Linked DNA regions of Homo sapiens: region 2 is linked to region 1. Evidence: promoter capture Hi-C in 16 types of primary human blood cells and fetal thymus (Javierre and others, 2016). All regions are on one chromosome and are shown on one strand. Each heading gives the region's core, a stretch centred on a gene start or on the middle of the fragment in contact. The rest is flanking DNA. Distances are from core to core; before and after follow the strand shown.

Evidence for each region. The method cuts DNA at HindIII sites, captures the fragments that hold promoters and counts their contacts. A CHiCAGO score of 5 or more calls a contact.
Region 2: a fragment that was not itself captured here is called in contact with the fragment with the promoter of OR51F1 in region 1 in 1 of 17 cell types (M0 macrophages); the score reaches 5.1 in M0 macrophages.

The regions. Positions count from the first base shown.
Region 1 is chr11:4,766,816-4,772,836 of GRCh38, reverse strand. OR51F1 (olfactory receptor family 51 subfamily F member 1) reads left to right here and starts at 2,899. Exons shown (of 1, transcript NM_001004752.2): 1 at 2,899-3,858. The coding sequence starts at 2,899. The coding sequence ends at 3,858. It overlaps MMP26 (matrix metallopeptidase 26), which reads right to left. Exons shown (of 8, transcript NM_021801.5): 2 at 5,496-5,567. The HindIII fragment of the contact is 5,192 bases long and covers 1-4,555 here.
Region 2 is chr11:5,908,966-5,914,454 of GRCh38, reverse strand. All of the region lies in intron 2 of LOC112268071 (a long non-coding RNA gene), which reads left to right. Among named protein-coding and RNA genes, the nearest start is that of OR52E5, 19 kb to the right of the region's middle. The HindIII fragment of the contact is 1,523 bases long and covers 1,512-3,034 here.

The sequences.
Region 1 (6,021 bases), core at 1,650-4,149:
GATACCTAAACAAAAACAAGACTGTCTCCACAAATGTGCAGCTTCTCTATAAAGGAGAAACAAAAGGCTTGAATGTGAGACTTTTCTTATGAACCTAGAATTAGTAGACTGTAAAGTGTCTGCATCCATTAGTCAACTGCCTACACTGACAAAAATGAAAAAACTCTCTCAATAATCAGGTGCTTGAAAGTATTAATGCAAGAAAACAGCAGGGAACAGAGTAAGAATACATGCACATGAGAACATCATTCATTCATGGTAACCCTAGCTACTAGCAAAACAGGGCCAAATTAATATATCAGGAGCTGACACATTTACTGGGGGAAAACTCAGTGTTTGAAAAAGAATGGATTTGAGAATGGACATCTATCATTCTCCCTATGGTTCAATGTGGAAATGTAGGCATAGGAGCCTAGAGACTGGGTGTAAAGTTTTCCCTCTTTATTGTGACCATAATGATCCCAGTGAACAGTGGTTTCTTTTCCTATCTTGCCAGTACACTTATAATCCAGAGACAATGATGTACATCTCTCTATTCCCCAATGCTATGAACAGTGTGTAAATTTTCTATTTATATGCATAATTTGGTTTATTTTCCTCTGCATTTAATGTCCCTGTGGACCACAGGTTACTTGGATTAGTAACTAAAACCCTCTGGGATTACACACTCCTGCCCTCTAATTTTTATAGATAGGGAGAGAGGGTGGTTTCTTTTTTGCTCTGTCTTTGGCTGCAGAGAGACATAAATCATACAAATAATCTCACAGCTCAATTCTACCTTACTATAAAGTCCATGGCTCCAGAACTGTAGTCTATCCTTCCTCATCTAGCAAAGACAGAGAAGGTTCCTCTTTCCACGTAAAGCTGGTAAGAAGGGAGATAGATATATTTATCGTGTTGACTTTTACTTTGTTACCTATTCACAAATAGTCATATGGGTTTATAGAAAAGTCAGATATCATGAGGGTTTGCCCTGTCCTCATCGATCCACATAACATGTAGATATACAACCTCTAATAATTCATACTTAAATATTTTCATAATGTTTCTCAGATTGAATTGAAAATCAGACAACTGGAGATTTAAAATAAACCACAGAATACTAGCATAAAGGGAACAGTAACTTGTATCCTTGCTACAGAATATTTACTCTCATGAATTTGACACATCTAATTTTTTAAAGACTTGATTGAAAAATACTAACATTATACTCATGAATACTGCTATTATTTAATTTAATTCTCCCCAGAATTGATTTGAACAATATAAATATATTAATTGACAAAATTATTCTTGGAATTTTACTTGAAAGAGGCGATATAGCATTTCTGTTTACTGAGCCAATTGCCCTTCTCATTCGCTGTCTCCTGAAAACGTCTACTGTATCCGGAAGCCAGCAGCCATCACTTTACACTTTTGAACAGCAGTAAATTACCCCCAAATACTTCACAGAGAAAAAGGTAACAATTTCCTTATATAACTCTCCACAAACTTACATATTTGACACTTACTAGTGTCAGTGCAAATGATGGTCCTCATTTTTTTGAAGGTTACTCATGCTCTACACTTAATCACCCACTACTTTCTTAAGGACTTTTATAGATCAATAAATCCTTCACATTCTATATTTTAAATTTCTCATTATCTGCTACATTTTTAACCTCCGTTTATAAACATATCAATTTCTCGAATTCTGTCCCATCTTGCAAAAATTCTCCATCTACCTGATACCCCTTCTTTAGACATGGCCTACTTCTCCCCTTGCCTTCACTGCCAAGTTTCTTAAAATAAACCGTACCTCCACTGCTAATACTTTCATCATTACCACACTGTAGCAGGTTCTCAATTTTCCACTGTTTTTTCTGGGATCGCTAATGGCTCTCAGCTGCATTTGAATTTTTTAATCCTTACTAGGCTTCACAGCGCAAGCAATTCGACACAGCTGCTCATGTAACATCCGGTCTTCACACCATGTTTTTTTTTTTTCTTCTTTTTTAGACGGAGTCTCTCACTGTCACCAGGCTGGAGTGCGGTGGTGCAATCTTGGCTCACTGCAACCTCTGCCTCCTGGGTTCAAGCGATTCTCCTGCCTCAGCCTCCCAAGTAGCTGGGACTACAGATACACGCCACCATGCCCAGCTAATTTTTGTATTTTTAGTAGAGACGGGGTTTCACCATGTTGGCCAGGATGATCTTGATCTCTTGACCTCGTGATCCGCCCACCTCTGCCTCCAAAGTGCTGGGATTACAGGCATGAGCCACCTGCCCAGCCTCTTTTGGTTTTCATAGTCCCCATAAAACCAGTCTCATCTTGCTTTAGTGTATATAGTGCATTCCAGTCTTCTGGAGAGTTCTGTCCTCATTGTTTTTCTCTTATAATTCTAGTCTCTGAAGTTGTTTACCTATAGTGTTGGATGAAAATGATAAATATACATTGATAACTTTATATTCCTGGCAAATATCTGGAGATCTGTGTCTGCAGACTCATACCCTTATGGTCACTGAAGAACCATGGATATTTTTAAGTGGCTATTATTCATTGTACTCACAAAATATTCAAAATTGAGGATACTTATTTTTTCTCAGCTAAGTCTTTATTCAAATAATCTTACAATATGATGCATCTTAATATATTCTGTAAATGGACACTATCATGAAAATGTATAAAATCATATGGACATATTTCCCTTGAATTTTATGGTACAAAAACATATTTTTGTGAACTATTTCTGATTATGAGTGGTAGATGAACATTATAATTTAATTTAAAGGTTTCTCAATGATGCAGATCTTATCTATGACCTTGGATAACTCTACTAACTAAAAGAAAATGTATCTAAATATTTTACATAACACTTAATGTATCACTTCTATAGGATGGAAGCATTGTGAGGACAAATGCTGCAAAACCAGGACACCATGGAAATCCTAAGCAACTCAACATCTAAATTTCCAACCTTCTTGTTGACCGGCATTCCTGGCCTAGAGTCTGCCCATGTCTGGATCTCCATTCCTTTCTGTTGTTTTTATGCCATTGCCCTCTCTGGGAACAGCGTGATCCTGTTTGTCATCATTACCCAGCAGAGTCTCCATGAACCCATGTATTATTTCCTCTTCAGGCTATCAGCCACTGATCTGGGCTTGACTGTTTCTTCATTGTCAACAACATTAGGTATCCTCTGGTTTGAGGCACGTGAAATCAGTCTATATAGCTGCATTGTCCAGATGTTTTTTCTTCATGGATTCACTTTTATGGAATCTGGAGTGCTGGTGGCTACAGCCTTTGACCGTTATGTGGCCATCTGTGACCCTCTGAGGTACACTACCATTCTCACTAATTCCAGAATCATTCAAATGGGTCTTCTGATGATTACACGTGCTATAGTACTAATATTGCCACTACTTTTGCTCCTTAAGCCTCTCTATTTCTGTAGAATGAATGCCCTTTCTCACTCCTATTGTTACCATCCAGATGTGATTCAATTAGCATGTTCAGACATTCGGGCAAATAGCATCTGTGGATTAATTGATCTCATCCTGACCACTGGAATAGATACACCATGCATTGTCCTGTCATATATCTTAATTATTCACTCTGTCCTCAGAATTGCCTCCCCTGAAGAATGGCACAAGGTCTTCAGCACCTGTGTCTCCCATGTGGGAGCAGTTGCTTTCTTCTACATCCACATGCTGAGCCTGTCCTTGGTGTATCGCTATGGTCGGTCAGCCCCCAGAGTAGTCCATTCAGTGATGGCTAATGTATACCTGCTTTTACCCCCTGTGCTCAACCCCATCATCGACAGTGTAAAAACAAAACAAATCCGCAAGGCTATGCTCAGTCTGCTGCTTACAAAATGAACAGACATAGTTTTATTTGATACAAACCTGGCATGAATGACTTGCACTGTAGAAAAGCGAACTTGCTCTCTTACTGCCTATTGCATGTGGGTTTTTAAAATATTTTTCATTCACCAAACAAATAGTAAATATGTTGTATATTTGGTCATAAAATATAAGTATGATATATCACCCAAGACATTTGTAGTGGAATTAGGAAAATAACAATAATGAAATGATAAATAATACTCCTGGCAATTAACATGTATTGACTCTTTGTTTCAGGCTAGGTGTTCTACTAACTGCTTTTAAGACATATTCCATTTATTCTTCCAAAACAGCGAAATGAAATATATATTACTATTAGCGATATATTACAGATGATGGAACAGATTTATAGACATTTAGGCCCCCAAAGGCCATGTGAATAACATGAGGCACAGTTGAGATTTGAACCCAGGTGTTCTGTATCTCAAATGCTATGCTCTTCATCACTGTATTACATACTCTGCCAAAGTCATGTAGCAGAAATGTTTTAAGATCAAAAGTAAGACCTGGATCTCCATGGTTCCATCCTTTGTCTTAAAAAGTTGTAGTAACCTTCTTAGAATATACTCTAGCTGTTTTCTTCATGGATAATTCATAATACAAAAGGTAGGAATAGATATGTCATGGCATGTGAGTCACTATCCAGTGTTGGACAGTCCAAAGAAAAGCTTTAGGGGTGAGGCACACTTGCTAATTTATCACAGGGAATGGGAACTTGAGAGAACTAGAAAAGAATGTAAAGTAAATTACAAGGAAGTTTGGGGCAGATGTTCTGAACCTTTTTCTGCATTGTGGTCCCTTAGAAAGCTAATGAAATTTATGGACCTTTCCCCATAGATAAACATACTCACATTATTTTCCATAGTTTTCACAGTTTTCACAAATGCCATTAAAGACCTATGTGACTCCTTAACCAGCTAAAGAACCAAGGTAAAGAATTCATAGTTCTTGCCTATACACAGTTTTACAGAGACAGACACAAAATGTTTGGTTTCTGAAAACGAACTTATGGTAACTCTTTGGATTTAAGAGACAGACAGAAGCTTAAAAATGTCAATTGCATATAATGGCAGAATAAAATCAGAGGGAAATGGAGATGGAAACCTAAAGGCAGTCACATCAATTTTATTGCCATTGGAAAAATAGTGATAGGTGGAAGAAATGTACCAGGTACCCCACAAATACTGAGGGCAGCAGTGTGCTGGAGAGAGCACACACCAGCTTGCAAGAGCCTATTTTTGCATATCTAACTATGCATTATATGATGTCATATTAGTAGCTTGAAATCACTGATAATGATAATTTTTATACCATGTGAACTGGTAAAAATTCTTTTAAATATTTATATAATAGCATTGTTCAATTTAATTTAATAGCATTGAGAACTTTTTCTGTTTTTAAATATTCAGTTTATCAGCACACAGTGACTGTAGGTATATTTTATGTTTGACCTCGTGGGAAACAACAAAAAATAAAAGATCAATAAAAAATATTACTGTGCACTCACGAAGGTTAAAATCTTGTGTGTGTAAAACATCAACATGAACAAAAAGTCATGAAATAATGGACTTATTGGGGTGATAATTCATAATATAAAAGTAAAATTTTACCCTTTATGTTGACTTCTGAGTTGAAAGAGTATCCAAAAGTGCATGCTGGATAGGACGATTTTGTAAGAAACTCTGTGGAAAAATGGAAGAAATATTATATGACAATTTTACTATTCATGGAAGAATTATCTTCTGAGTTTTAAGGTCTGTCTGTACATAGGCATGAAAATTATGAAACACAAACCCTTTTTTCTTCTATTTTCTCTCTTCTTCAGCTTTCCCCAGGTGAACATAGATTATAAAATTTGTGTTAGTAGCTTTAAAAACACCTTTTGATAAAACAATGCCATTATGTAAATGAATTTGTTTATCGATTTAGTTTACAAATTTGGCTACACTTTCTGACTTTTATATGTGAGAGTCTTTTTCTTGAGTAATTCTACATGCCTGCTAGCTGCTGGAACATCAGAAAGATAGATGTGGTAAAATAATGTAATATATACTAACATTATCACAATAAGCACTCATCGCAATATTCCGAACCGATAGCACAGCCACCAGCAGAAAATTTTTAAATTGTCAGAGT
Region 2 (5,489 bases), core at 1,024-3,523, 1.1 Mb before region 1:
ATAAATCAGTAAACATTAGTTGAGCTATGCCCACAATCTTGTGAAAGACAATATTATAAATGTAAAAAAGTTAGGACTTGTGTCCTTTTGATATCAGTATGTACATTAGTAGAAAAATTATTTTCTTGTTTGCATTTACTGTCTACCTATGGTTTCCTAGTACATGCTAGTGTAAAAAGAGGGCTATCAAACAAACAAAAAGGATTGAGTGTGTTAGTTAGAAAAACATTATTTTCATTACTTATTCTGTTAAAACATATTATAATGTCTACTATATTAAAATACACTATAAAACATTCACTTAAAATCGCTTTTATGATGCTTTTAACTGTAAATTGAACTTCAGAGAAGTTTCTCGAGACATAAATCCTCAAAAATTTCTAAAATTATAACTGAATCATATGTATTAACTACTAAAATTTTAAATCAAAATGATTTTCCACAGTGGTCACTATTATATATAGTTACTTGATCAATGTTCGAAAACCATCTGAAATAAACACAAAAGAACTATTTATATAAACCATGTCATCTGAAGTTCAGCAGTGGTTGCAATAACACTTCAGCACAGAATTAGTTCTCTGGATTAATTTTACAGAGGTCCTGGTTGTTACTTGGTTTGTATTTTTATTTTCTTTTATTTTATTACTTTTCTGTTTTCCTAGTGATTCTGTGAGGTATCCATCATCTTTTCAATAATTTTTCTTTGCTTAAAATATCTAGAATTATTTTTTGTTGCTTGAAAGTAAGAATTCTGATTGAAATAGCAGTTAAAGAGGTATGGTGGATATTTCATGTAATAAATATTGAGCTTTTCTTATTTACAAAGATGAACTACATTGTTTTGTACTTTCATAAATGAAGGTGAAGTGGTAGTTAACACCTTGATGCTGGAATTATACTTCCTGGGTTCAAATTTTGGTTTCACTACTTGCTGTGTGTGAAGCCTTTATCAAGTTGTTTTTATGTCTTTGTGCATCTATTTCCTCCTCCGGAAAATAGTCATAAACTTAGCATGTATCTCATGTTAATTGCATTTATTAAATGATGTAACATGAATAATACTAATCATAGTGCCTGATATATGGTACTTTGTAAATATTATCTGTCCCCATTAATAGGAAGTATAATGTATAATGGAAAAGTAGGCATTGAGCCTCACTTCAATACAGTTGTGGTCAGTTATTTCAAAGAAAGAAACTTTCTGGGTGCTACAGTAGAAGCCTGTTACAGTGGAGCCTGACAGCCTAACATAATATTGAAGGTTGGGTAAGGTCATTTTAAGTAAACCTAAGTAGGTTGAACAAGAAAGAAAAATAGGAATCACCTAAGCAAAGAAGGATGAAAAGATTATTTTAGGCAGTGAAAACTACACACATGCAGAGGTTCTGTACTAAGAGAGAAAGCATGTTGAGTTTTAGGAGCAAAGAGAGGAACAATTAAGCTTTGGATAAAAACTTAGGTACTTTTCGTTATTTAATGACAATCTGCTCAACTGTCAATTTGAAGCTTCATCCATCAGTATAAAGGTATATTAAATATGTGTTATGATTGCTTCTCTGACCCAACTGGTCTTCCCAACTGCCCTCCCTTAGATAATCCCAGATTTATTCAAATATTCCAATATTTTGTGAAAAAGCTGACACCTGGGAGGTTCCAGTGGTCAAGAACTCCTGCAGTTACTGAGCAGCATTTTTTCCCTCGTAGGATTATAACTTCAAGTCAGAAAATTCATTTGTTCTCCTCTTTCTTCTGTCTTTTTGTTGGTGGAGAGGAAGTACAATCTTTCTTTTTCCAATTCAAAGACACTGCATTTTCTTACTTCTATTCTCTGTTTAGCATTAACTTTTCTCTTTTTTTATTTTTTATTTTATTTTATTATTATTATACTTTAAGTTTTAGGGTACATGTGCACAATGTGCAGGTTAGTTACATATGTATACATGTGCCATGCTGGTGTGCTGCACCCATTAACTCGTCATTTAGCATTAGGTGTATCTCCTAAAGCTAACTTTTCAAAGGACATATATTTTCTCAAAATACCAGAAGATACCTTGTCTTTCTGTTCTCAATGAATTCTGAAAGTCAATGAGCTACTAAGGATCTGGCTGCTTATTTGGAAACAAAATAATGGAGGATGACATTGGCCGCATAGTCAGGAGAAATAGGACGCTAAAGGCATTCAGTTCTGCCAGCTTGGGACCTGGCAAAACAGTTCTGGAGAAACTTGGAAACCTCAATACAACAGTCGTTGCTAAGCAATAACAAGGCACTGATCAGATCGTCAAGCAACTGACCAAAGAGGAAAAATTTCATAAACAAGTCATTTAAATATGTGGGAAATCATGTAAGAAGGTTTGTGGAAAGTATTAGTGCATCAAACTAGTTTTAAAAAGTTTTACATAACAGAATAATCTGCTCAGTCAGATTAAGTGACAATCACTGTTTGGTCTTGTGAGAAAAGATCAAATGTTATTCATCTCTGCTTTTGGGGAATTAATTGTATAAAGAAGGGCACAATAACTTAAAGTAGAATGATGGCAGTATAATATGGCTGCTATGGTTTGAATGTCCCTCAAGATTCATGTGTTGGAAACTTAAACCCCAATGCAACAGTATTGGGAGGTAGGACCTTTAAGAGGCGATTATGTCACATGGGCCCTGCCCTCATGAATGAATTAGTGCTGCTATCGTGGGAGTGGGTTTGTTATAAAAGCAGATTCAACTCTCCATTTCTAATTCTCTCTCTTCTCTCTTTCTCATGCACATACACTCTTGCCCTTCTGCCTTCTGCCATGAGATGACCCAGTGACAAGGCCTTCACCAGAAGCAGGTCACTTGACCTTGGACTTTCTAGCCTCCAGAGCTGTGAGCCAAATAAAGTTCTATAGTTTATAAATTACCCAGTCTCTGATATCCTGTTATAGTAGCACAAAACAGTACCAGGAAGATTGATATTGGGAGTAGAGTTGTTGCTACAACAAATACCTGAAAATATGGAAGTGGTTTTTGAACTGGGTAATAGATAGAAGCTTGAAGAATTTGGAGAAGCAAGGTAGAAAAAGCCCAGATTGCTGTGAATGGAGCATTAAGCATATTAATTATTTTTATTAGGAAAAAAATGAGAGTCTGAAATCAATTCTATAAGCTTCTGCCTTACAAATCTAGAAAAAGATGGGAAAAGCATATTCAAAAAATAGAAGGAAGAAAATAATAGAAATGAGCCGAACTCAATAAGATAGAAAATGAACAGAAAAAGGAAAAAAAACAAAACCAAAAATGTGCTACTTTGAAAAAAAATCATAGTGTGATACATTTCTTTATACACTATTCAGTCAAGAAAGATAAAAATACAAACACAGAATCAAGACTGAGATTAAGATGGCAAATAGGAGGCTAGTCAGAGACAGGGCAGCATGTAGAGACTCACATCATTAACTTTTCTCCAAGAATTACTGCAGGAACATGCCAGGTAAGCTGAGATAATCCACAGACCCTTTGAAGGAACTGGATTGCTTCTGCAGGCTCCTTGAGATGCCAAAAAACTCTGAATCAGCTTGCTTTCTCAGTGGGGTGGCTGACGGTCTGGGGCAAGTTCTCAGAACTGGTCACCAGCTGCCTGGAAACACTTGGTGTGGTAGGTGGGGCATGATGGAAGTGAGACCAGCATTTAGGACTGTGGCTACATGGGAATGGGGTGAGGCCTGTGACTGCTGTCTTTGTCCCACTTCTCTGGTGACCTGTATGACTCAGCAGAGGCAGCCACAATCCACCAGGGAACATAACTCCATTGGACTGGGAATCACACCCCTATTCCCCACAGCAGCTGCAGCAAGCTCCACCCAAGGAGAGTCTGAGCTCAGACATACCTATGTCTGCCCCCACCTGGTGGTCTTTCTCTACCCGTTCTGGTTGCCAAAGACAAAGGACATAATATCCTGAGAGCTCTATGGCGCTGCCCACCACCTGAGAAACCTGAATACGTAACCAGACAACCCCAGGGCAAGTATACATCCTCCTTCTAGTACTGTAGTTGATGTGCTCTTGAACATGCCACCTCCTGGCTGCAGGCCAACCAACACAAAACCAGTGCACTAAACAAAAATACAACTAAGGACCCTCACAGACTCCACTTAACTCCCCTGCTACCTCCACCGGAGCAGGTGCTGGTATCTGTGGCTGAAAGACCTGAAGACAGATCACATCACAGCACTCTTTGCAGACACTTTCCAGTATTAGCCCAGAGCCCTGTAGCTACACTGGGTGGCTAGACCCAGAAGAGCAAAATCAGTCATTGCAGTTCAGGTCTCAGGAAGCCTCATCCCTAGGGGAAAGGGGAGAACACCAAATTAAGGGAGCACCCCTATGGGACAAAAGAATGTGAACAGCAGCCCTTAAGTCCCAGATCTTCCCTCTGACATAGTCTACCCAAATGAGAAGGAACAGAGAAACAATTCTGGTAATATTACAAAACAAGGTTCTTTAACACCTCCAAAGGATCAAACCAGCTCACCAGCAATGGATCCAAACCAAGATGAAATCTCTGAATTACCAGAAAAAGAATTCAGAAGATCAATTATTAAGCTGATCAAAGAGGCACCAGAAAAAGGTGAAATCCAACTTAAAGAAATCAAAAACATAATACAGGATATGAAAGGAAAAATCTTCAGTGAAATAGACAGCATAAATAAAAAAACAAACACAACTTCTGGAAATGAAGGACACACTTAGAGAAATACAAAATGCACTGGAAAGTCTTGCAATAGAATTGAACAAGCAGAAGAAATAACTCCAGAGCTCAAAGACAAGGTTTTCAAATTAATCTAATCCATCAAAGACAAAGAAAAAATGATTAAAAAAATGAACAAAGTCTCCAAGAAGTTTGGGACTATGTTAAGCATCCAAACCTAAGGATGATTGATGTTCCTGAGGAAGAAGAGAAATCTCAAAGTTTGGAAAACATATTTGAGGGAATAATCAAGGAAAACTTCCCCAGCCTTGCCAGAGAGCTAGACATCTAAATACAAGAAGTTCAAAGAACACCTGGAAAACTCATCGCAAACAGATCTTCACCTAGGCACACAGTCATCAGGTTCTCTAAAGTCAAGACAAAGGAAAGAATCTTAAGAGCTGTGAGGCAAGGCTGGGAGTGGTGGTTCACACCTGTAATCCCAACCCTTTGGGAGGCCTAGGTAGGCGGATCACTTGAGGTCAGGAGTTCAAGACCAGTCTGGCTAACATGGTGAAACCCTGTCTCTACTAAAAGTACAAAAATTAGCTGGGTGTGGTGGCATGTGCCTGTAGTTCCAGCTACCGGGGAGGCTGAGGCAGGAGAATTACTTGAACCTTGGAGGCAAGGGAGCCGAGTTCACACCATTGCACTCCACCCTGGGTGACAGAACGAGAGTCCAACTAACTAACTAACTAACTAAATAAATAATAGAGCTATGAGGCAAAAGCATCAAGTAACATACAAAGGAAAACCTATC